2 separate regions of the Homo sapiens genome follow, and region 2 is linked to region 1. The links are contacts of gene promoters, found by promoter capture Hi-C in blood cells and fetal thymus (Javierre and others, 2016). All regions are on one chromosome and are shown on one strand. Each heading gives the region's core, a stretch centred on a gene start or on the middle of the fragment in contact. The rest is flanking DNA. Distances are from core to core; before and after follow the strand shown. Region 1 holds the start of SYTL2 (synaptotagmin like 2). Region 2 overlaps PICALM (phosphatidylinositol binding clathrin assembly protein).

Region 1 (5,182 bases), core at 910-3,409:
GAAGCCTATACAGGCACAGTTCACCCTACCTCCCTTGCCCAAAGAGGAGAAACACCTAGACTAGCATCTGGGTTTTGAAGATGGTGGAACCTGGGCTTCCCCTAGGCTGCCTCACATTTCTACAAGGCAGCAGACCACTCTGCACAAGGTGCTAATTCATTCATTCCACAAATGTTTATTGAGCAAAACCTGAAAAAGGCCTCTTAGGGGACAGTGGAATCATTCACCAGCCAACGGTTAGGGCTAACGGGTCAGATGTGGACAATCAATCTTTCATTAGACCCCAAACCACCTCTAGGATAAAGCAAACAGGGCCCTGCCCCACCCACGCACTAGCAGCTGGGCAGGATTAGGGTAGGCCTTCTAGAACAGTACTGCTGCTGAGAGGCTAAGGCAGTCACAGATTACCTCCAGAATAACGGAAACTCCTGCACCATAAATGACATAATAGCTCTAAGATGTTTTGCATAGTGCCTGACACCTGGTGAGAACACAATGTTAGACATTTTTGCTCTCCTTATTCCAGCTTGCTCTTACTTAAGGAGCACAAAGACAGTGTAAAGAACACAGGTTTTAGAATCAGAGATTGGATTTGAATTCCAGCTATGCTACTTCCTAGCTAAGTGACTAAAGGAAGCAATCTTTCTGAGCCTGTTTCTCACCTATAAAATAGGGTATAGTACATCACCCCTCATGTGGCTTTGTGAGAATTAAGGATATATTACATACAAAGAAGTGTCTGGCCCATAGTAAGTGCCCACTAAACAGCAGTCAACATTGCCCTGCTGCCGTCCCCACACCTCTTCTCCTTCCTAGCTGCTCTTGATGGGTTCTGCAATCTGATTTCACCTGGATACCACACTAAGGGTGAGAAGGGGCAGAACTTCAGGGGTGGAGGAAAGTGAGGGAAGGGAAATGCTGGAGACCTTCCATAGAAATCCAGCCAAGTCCTCAGCTCCTTTCAATCATCCTACTCTATCTGGCTGCTCCATCCAGCAGACAGCAGGGGTCACCATCCTGGTGGGGAATGGCTGCCAACAAGGGGACGGGAAGCTGGATGGCAGTTTGCATCCACCCCACCTTCCAGGGTCTATCTGTCTGAAGCCCCACCGGGCTTCCTCTGCACATCCCTGCCGGGCTGTGTGGCTCAGGGGGCTGACAGGGTGATTCATAGCCTGTTCTTATCTAGGCTTCTATCTCAACCCTGCGCCCAAAGCCCTGGAGGCTGCTGGTCACAAACCAGCACTAAATGAAAAGAAGAACTTTTCATTAAGGCAGGAAGTGGAGCCCCTCAAGGTCAAAGGGGATTTATAAAGAGAGGAGGAAAGAAAGGGAAGACGCGGCAGGATGGGTGCAGAGAAAGAGAGACCCACTTCCTATATGCTGGTGGAGCCCTGTGTCTTAGACGCTAAAAACAGTCGCTTTTCCACTTCAAAGGATGATAAAGCCCACTCGTGTAGTTTATAGCTCGCCGTGGGACGAGGTGTGGGTATGGAAGAGAATTCCAAAACACGTCTTATTTTCAAAGGAGAAATCATCATCCCCTGGCCGGCCCTTCCCAACACCCCACCTGTAAACAGGTGCTGACGCTCCTACCTTTCTGCACCTGAGCAATCTGGGGGCAGTTACTCTGCAGCCAGGTCTCCCCAGCACCCAGCCCCAAGCCCAGGTCAGTCCCTGAAAGCCCTAGAAAACGCGATAGCTCAGCAGAACCCTCGCCTACCCGGGCATCCCAGCTTCCTGGCCGCCTGGGCAGCGGAGGTGGCTCTGGAGTAGGTGGGAAACTGAGGAAAGGAGCTTTCCCCGTGCCAAAACGCAGTTCCCATTTTAGAACTGGTTAGACTAAGGAACAACATTCTACACCACCTCCCTCACTTAACAGAGGAGGAAGCAGAGACCAAGAGAGGGAAACAAAGTTGCCCGAGGTAACACAGCGAGTGGGCCAAGTAGAGACTGGAACCCGAGTGCGCACCTCCGAGTCGCTGCCGGGCAGGGAGCGCGCCTCGCCGTCTCTCTTGTCTTCTGGCCCCCAGCCCTCGGCCTGGCGGTGCAAACCGCGCAGCCCCGGGCGCGGCGCGTTACCTTCCCCCGGGCAAGGCGTTGCGAGCCTTCACTCTCCCGACGGACGCTGGCGGCACGGCCCGGGTGTCGCCCGGCACTGTCAACGCAGAGCGGCGTGCGCGAGTCCCTCCCCGCTACCCCCGCCCCCGGCGGGCGGTGCGGTGGGGCCGGTCCCGGGTGCTCGGGCCAATGGCGCTTCGCCCGCTCCCCGCCCCGGCCCGCCCCGGCCTCCTCGCCCGGCACACAGCGCCTGCCAGCCCCTGCCCTCTCCCCTTCCCTCCCTTCGCCCTCCGCCCCCGCCTGCTGCTTCTCTCCGGTTCCTAGCCTCCTTCTCAAGTGTACCTTGCCCCGAAACAACCTGTTTTCTGTGCAAATAAAGCAGCACTGTTGTTATTGTTATTATTATTTTTATCACGGCGCGTTAGGGGGCCTTGGAGCCCGAGAGTGTGGAGCACTAGGAGCCTCTGCACTCCGAGAAGGGACAGCCACCGCGCAGGGAAAGGGGCGCGGAGGGTATGGAGCCCGGTCATGGGGTAACTTGCTTTAACCCTCGGGACGTCAATTTCCTCACATGTGAAATAGAAGAAGGGGGGAAAAAAGTTGTTGAGAGGACTAAATGAAGTGATGCTTTAAAATACAATAATACCTAGAGAAAGGTGAGGGCGTCATGCACTGCCTGAGCTACTTACTGGGGTATGCACAGAGGACTGGTAAGCTCCTGGAAGACGCTGTGTGGCAGGGAGGCAGACAATGCAATACAGTAAATACAATATTGTGGTCGGGCGCGGTGGCTCACACCTGTAATCCCAGCATTATGGGAGGCCGAGGCAGGTGGATAACCCGAGGTCAGGAGTTCGGGACCAGCCCGGCCAACATAGCAAAACTCTGTTCTAATTAGAAAAGAAAAAAGAAAAATTAGCTGGGTGTGGTGGCGAGCGCCCGTAGTCCCAACTACTTAGGAAGCTGAGGCAGGAGAATCGCTTTAACCCGAGAGGTGGAGGCTGCCGTGAGCCAAGATCGCACCACTGCACCCCATCCTGGGTGACAGAGCAAGACTCTGTCTCAAAAAAATAAATAAAATAATTTAAAAATTGTATCACGACCTATTTTTTACAAGTTACCCATGATGGGGCCAGCCCAGGCAAACCTCTGAAGGAGATGAACCTTAAAGCCTTTTTCCTTATCATTTCCTGGACTAGTGTTGTCCATTTAACTGAGGGTGGCCCAGGTCTGCCTTTGGTTCTTCCAAAGGTCTTCCTTCTCCCAAACTTACAAATACTTATCCCCAAGGGCTTCAGTTAGTGCCCAGTGCAGGCTGCTAGCCTGGCCCAAGAGTCCTGGCACTGTGCAGAGATGTGTATTCTGGCTTCCTTCAGCCTTTGAGAGCCTGGTGTGTCCCTGTGCTGGGTGAGCATGCCACATGCAAAAGAGGAATAAGCCACTGGTCTTGCCTTTGAAGAAACAAATTTGTAAATAATTTCATTTTAGGGTAAGTGTTATAATAGGTTGACAAAGTGTTGTAGAGTCACTACGCTGAAGGAGGGGGACAATAAAAAATACAAATGTGACCAAGGTAGGTCTTGAAGGAGGGCTACAAATTAGGTCAGATTGAAGGGGTGACAGAAGACTGGGCACAGAGAGGCAGGCAGAGACATGGAGATGCCTGTCATATGTCACGGCTATTGCACAGGATTTGGGACAATGAGGCAGAGATGAAGCTAAGGAGGTAGGTGGGCAGATGTTGGAGGAGTGGCTGTACCTGCCTTGCTGAGGGAAGCAGGCTGTGTCCTGTTGGTGATGGCTGTTGGCGAATGATTTTAGGCAGGGGAGTAGCGTGACCTCAGATGCTTTTGGTACTTCACTTTTATTGTTGATTGCACCTGCCTTGGTTATCCCCTTCCTGCCCCTCTCTAGCTCTGGAGGGCAGGCACTGGGTCTTGCTCACCTCTGGGTGCCTTGTATCATCTGGCATAGGACTTTGAAGGAACTAAATACATGCTGTTCCCAGTATCACTCGTCCCCTGGAAACAAATAGCAATGCCTAAATGCTAGAGAGGGTCACAGGATCCTTGCTTCAGGTTGTGGGGCAGGCAAGTGGGGGAGAAATTTTAAGGCAGGGTCTTGTTATGGCTCCCAATTCATCTAAATCTTGTATGGCTCAGAGACTAAATCTTAGAGCTCTTGGCCAAGATCCAAATGCTGTTAGAAATGTCAATTTCTAATAAGACCTTAGACCAATTACTCAACCTCCCTGTGCTTCAGTTTGCTCATTTGTTAGAGAGAAAATAATTGCACTGCTCTCTCAGGCCTACTGTGAAGATTAAAAGAAGATGCACATGTTTAGCATGATGCCTTGCACATACAGTGCACTGAAAAAGCCTTGGTTAACACGATCATATCAAGTCAGCAATGGCCTGTTCCACTTATCCCATAGGAACCCTTCAAAATGGTTTACATATAAGTGACACTTAAACTTTAGAGAATTCTAGGTTGACATTGAAGGGGAAGGCAAGAGGGTAGGGATAGCATGGTGTAAGGTTAAATGCACAGACTTTGGTGTATCTCCTGGCTCTACCACAGAACTCGCTGGTTGACTTTGGACAAGTCACTTAATTTCCTTCTTTCTCTGGGTGACTTTAGACAAGTCTCCTCCCTCCCTCCCTCCCTCCCTCCTTTCCTTCCTTCCTTCCTTCCTTCCTTCCTTTTTTGGCAGGGTCTCACTTTGTTGCCCAGGCAGTGGCACAAACACAGCGCACTGCAGCCTCAACCTCCCAGGCTCAAGCCATCCTCCCACCTCAGCCTTCCAGGTAGCTGGGACTACAAGCACACACCACCACGCCCAGTTAATTATTGTATTCTTAGTAGAGACGTGGTTTCGCAATGTTGACCTCTTGAGCTGAAGCGATCTGCCCGCCTCAGCATCTCTAAGTGTTGGGATTACGGGCGTGAGCCACTGCACCCAGCCTAAGTCACTTAACTTCTGTTAGCGATTGTTCTTCTATAAAATAGAAGTAGTCATATTACCTGCCCCATGCCAAGGAGATAACACATAACACATATAGCATATTGCCTGGCCCAAGGTAAGATCTCAATTCCTGTTAGCTAATGGTGTGATAATGGT
Region 2 (4,551 bases), core at 871-3,370, 150 kb after region 1:
AATCAAAGGTTTCTTTGGCAGACATAATTATATGTACCAAAACATTAAACTGCGTATTTTCCCTTAAACTTACCTGACTAAAGGCATCTGATCAAAAGACAAAAAGTGAACAATTTTAATAAGTAGTTGCATTTATCAATAAGAGTCTACAAGGTAACAAAAAGTGTAAAGAGACATCTTTTTGAAAATTCATATAAAACAAACCTTCCATGTTATTAGATCAACAAATATAATCACCTGGGTATATTTTATTAGGGAAAAATGACAATATTGATAATAAAAAGAGAAAGGAAAAATGAAAATGCATCTCAGACCAGAATACCATAACAAAACTTTTGTGGAAGCTGCATTTTATTTGAAAATCCACCCATTTTGCTAACATACATTTTAATATTGTAAACAAAAATAGAATCTGCAGAGACAATGCAACAAGAATGCTTAAACTCATGTACAGAATTGCTTTCCTACAATGAACTGTCCTTCTTAAGGCCCCTCTCCACCCAAATGTTAAAGATGTATTTACACAAAGCACCGATCAACAGTGCAGTTTAATTCTTCGTTTACTAAACTCTTGGCTAGACATTAACTTTAAAGATACTATTTCCCCTTATTTAAAAGGTATATGATCATAACATGGCACGAGCCAAAGAAAATGTTCAAGGACTTTGCCCCCCTTCCCTCCCCCTTGTAACACCTTCTAGAGTTTTAGTGAAAAGAAGGAAAGTCTTGAAGTGAAAGCAATTCCTCACATTCATTTTGGAAAGGCCCTAATGTCAAATGGAAAATAATGACATGCCAAGCACAAAGCAGTAAAGATCCTTCCCAATGCACTAATGCTGAATTTAAAATGTAGTGCTTTTCCTAGTCAGTGAACTGTTCCCTGGCAAAATCCTAGGCACAGAATTGACTATAAGGATTAATGCATTTATAATGCTTCCCTAAATCCCACAGAGGCCGAGAATTCTTAAGAGATTCAGACCTATGGACTTGCCTTAAAATATTTAGTGCTCTGTATGTCAGCTGAGAAAAGCATTCTGAATCAGATTCATTCTTGTGGATAAAAATCAAACATACTGTGCACATCCATACTCATTTTCATAAGGAGGTCTGATACAATATTAATGTTATGTAAAATTGATAATCATAAATAAATACAAATACTTAAGGAATGTCTACTGCAAACTGAATATAATTTTTTTTAAAAAAAGAAAAGTTAATTTCAGTTATTGTTTCTGTATTTGTGAGGACTGGAGAAAAGAAAGATAATGCATAATTAGGAATTTTAATTTTGATCCCCCAAAAGAGTCCTGTTGAAATACAGTAAAGGACACAGTTCTTCTCTCCAGGCAGCTTTTCCAAATACAAATTTCACACTTTCCAAATAAGGGCTTTTCTTGATAGGTTACTGATTATGGGTATTAACAGGAGTTGAAAGAATTGAAGGGTTAGTCACCAAAAAGACAGATCTTAGTCTTAAATCATAGCAATTCTTGGCTTTATAAACTGTATTGATACGTTCTCCTATAAACTAGTCCCAATTTCCTTCATGGGCCTTCACTGAGTTACTTGTAGCATTCTAATGGAAGAAGAGAGTTTAAGAGATTTAAGAGACAGCAGTTTGGATTTTGCTGGAAGTAAGGATTTTGCTGCTTGAGCACTTGTCTTTTTGGAGTAATTCCATTTTCTTCCATCAAGTTACATAAACTGTATCTGGAAAAAAAAAGTGGGTATGTTAATTCATTGTATTGTAGGATGTCTTCTCATAAATAAAAATGCTTTGTGGTCTTTACCATTTAACTGGCCCAGAAGTGTTCACAACATGCTTATCACAAACCCTGTTTATAAAACAAAGTCAGTATTATCAACTTATGTGCCAGAAAGCTCAATATTTGACACATATAGGGACTTCCAAATAATGTTTTTTGTTGTTGTTTTTGAGACAGAGTCTTGCTCTGCTGTCTAGGCTGGATTGCAGTGGCATGATCAAAGCTCAATGGCTGGGCACCATAGCTCACACCTGTAATCCCAGCACTCTGGGAGGCTGAGGTGGGCAGATCACCTGAGGTGAGTTCGAGAGTTCGAGACTGGCCTGGCCAATATGGTGAAACCCCGTCTCTACTAAAAATACAAAAATTAGCCAGGCGTGGTGGCGGGCGCCTGTAATCCTAGCTACTCGGGAGGCTGAGGCAGGAGAATGGCTTGAACCCAGGAGGTGGAGGTTGCAGTGAGCTGAGATCGTGCCACTGCACTCCAGCCTGGGAGACAAGAGCGAAACTCCATCTCAAAAAAAAAAAAAAAAAAAAAAAGCTCATTGGAACTCCTGGGCTCAAGCAACCCTCCTGCCTCAGCCTCCTGAATAGCTAGGACTGCAGACAGTCGCCACCACACCTGGGTAATTTTTGGGTGGGGGTAGAGACTAGGGTCTCACCGTATTGCCCAGGCTGATCTTGAACTACTAGCCCCAAGTGATCCTCCCGCATCAGCCTCCCAGGGTGCTGGGATTACAGGCATAAGCAACCACATCCAGGCCAAATACTTAACTGCTAAAAATAGAGGAATAGCATGTGGAGGAGGAAAAGAAAGAAGATCAATGACCTATTTTTTCATGACAAGTTCAGAAAAATCTCTCCATAAGCACAAATACCACAAGCAAAATCTCATTTGGGAAGCAAAATTTGAAATATTATTTCCAAATGATATACAATTAGAGACAATAAAGGGAACAGTAATATTATACTAAGTCTTTTTATTAACATAAATAAGAACCTGAAAGAGCCATAAAAATATTTTTCAATAGGGTACTACTGTTCATTCAAAGATATTTCACTCACAATTTCCCTTAAACTGCCCATCCAAAGATTACTGAAGTAGATGTGCTAATAAACTTGCCAAATCAGAAGACTATAAACTCCCAAAGATCTAGAAGGTATATCTAAACTGGGGGCTAGAGCATCAAGAAGAACAAATTACACTGTCTTCCAGCAAACAGAGGCAGTGTGGATCATATGCAGAATCCTTCTAATCGAAAGGGCTTAAGTATTCACTTGCCCTTAATTAAAAAGCAAACTTTATCCGATCTCATCCATTTACTGTGAGCAGTGGATGAGATTACTTTAAATAATTATGTTACAGATATTTTCCAAAAGTTGTTTTTCCTTATGTCCTATCTTTTCATTCTGCACCTAAAGAATAGAGGAAGAGGAGGAGGAGGAGAGGGAGCCTAGAGTCCTTTAAAGAAATGAAAGAGAAGCGTGAATTGTGTTTAATGTTTGGTAATTGTTTTTAAGTATTTAAGTCCCCATCTCCCAAAACAAGTAGCAATACCTAAAGTGATTTATAAGAAATCCTCCAAAGAGAGCTCTGCAAAGGGGTCCTTTCCTGAAGCTCTGTGAGGACTGTGACTGGAGGGGCTGGATGCTGCCGACAGCTGGGGGAAAAGAAGACAGAGAGAGGGAAAGAAAAAAAGATCTCAGAATGACAGAACATGAAAGCAGAAAATGTATGAAAGAAGAAGTGGTTTTGGTTTTGTCATCTTTAATAAATATAAGGGCAGTCTTTGTAGAAAATGGATTGTTAAGACAAAAGTTTCAGTCATATGTCAAGTTAAAAGGTATGCAATGGCATGTGTTTTTCAGAAAACAAACTCGTGCTTCTGAAGTTTCAAAGGAATAATGTCTTTTACCCAAAAGGTCGATATAAGCTGACCCATGGTTAAGAATTTTAATGTGTGTATGGGGGGTGGTGGGGGGATAGGGGAGGGAATACATAATTGCATTTTTGTTTAAAATTGAGAGAACATGGTTTCCTGTGTCCAGGCTATCTGTCCAAAGCTGTGCAACTCTGACCTCAGTCCGGACCCAACACATCTAGCTGCAATATTCTTTCCTTTCTTTCTTCATAAGGGTCGAAAAGTCCTGTCCTAGGTTCACACACTTTTTACACGAAGTTGTCTCCTGCTCATTTATCTTGACGAACTGCAGCTGACACACGTACTGTGGGAGGTGAAAGGGACCTTAGAGGTCACCTACTGTAACTGTCCACATACTGCCCTGAATATGGGGAATACTTAAGATCTTTGATTCTGCTTCCTGTTTGGACAAATTTACTTGATTCTTAGAATCTGTCCTATTGTTTAATTCGAATATACTGTAAGGCAAGTAAACAACTGAATTCAGTATGTATCTTTATTCTCCCAAACACAGACTATTCCTGAAGAACCAAGATATTAATTTTCATACATGTATCCTTCATTAAGCTGACATGAGCGTTTCAAACCCGACATGAACCTTTTTACTTTGGAACAAGCTTTTAATTCTTTTTCTCCCTCTGTATAAGATTGCAAAGCATATAAGCACAGGACTATTACAAAATGAGCTTTTCTTTTAGGGATGTCCTAGTGAGTAATAAAAGTTGACTAACTGGAAATAGTTTCAATTCATACTTCAACATTCAAATCCTATAGAGGATTTCTTTGCTGGTGCCAAGTGATTTCATTTCTTTCTACCTATTTATTTATTTATTTATTTATTTATTTATTTTCGGAAAAGCACT

The links. The method cuts DNA at HindIII sites, captures the fragments that hold promoters and counts their contacts. A CHiCAGO score of 5 or more calls a contact.
Region 2: a fragment that was not itself captured here is called in contact with the fragment with the promoter of SYTL2 in region 1 in 1 of 17 cell types (naive CD4 T cells); the score reaches 5.3 in naive CD4 T cells.

Annotation. Positions count from the first base shown.
Region 1 is chr11:85,808,982-85,814,163 of GRCh38, forward strand. SYTL2 (synaptotagmin like 2) reads right to left here and starts at 2,160. Exons shown (of 20, transcript NM_206927.4): 1 at 1,973-2,160. RefSeq lists a silencer at 2,119-2,298. The HindIII fragment of the contact is 7,624 bases long and covers 1-5,182 here.
Region 2 is chr11:85,957,351-85,961,901 of GRCh38, forward strand. PICALM (phosphatidylinositol binding clathrin assembly protein) reads right to left here. Exons shown (of 20, transcript NM_007166.4): 20 at 1-1,710. The coding sequence ends at 1,696. Among named protein-coding and RNA genes, the nearest start is that of CCDC83, 100 kb to the left of the region's middle. The HindIII fragment of the contact is 4,365 bases long and covers 1-4,303 here.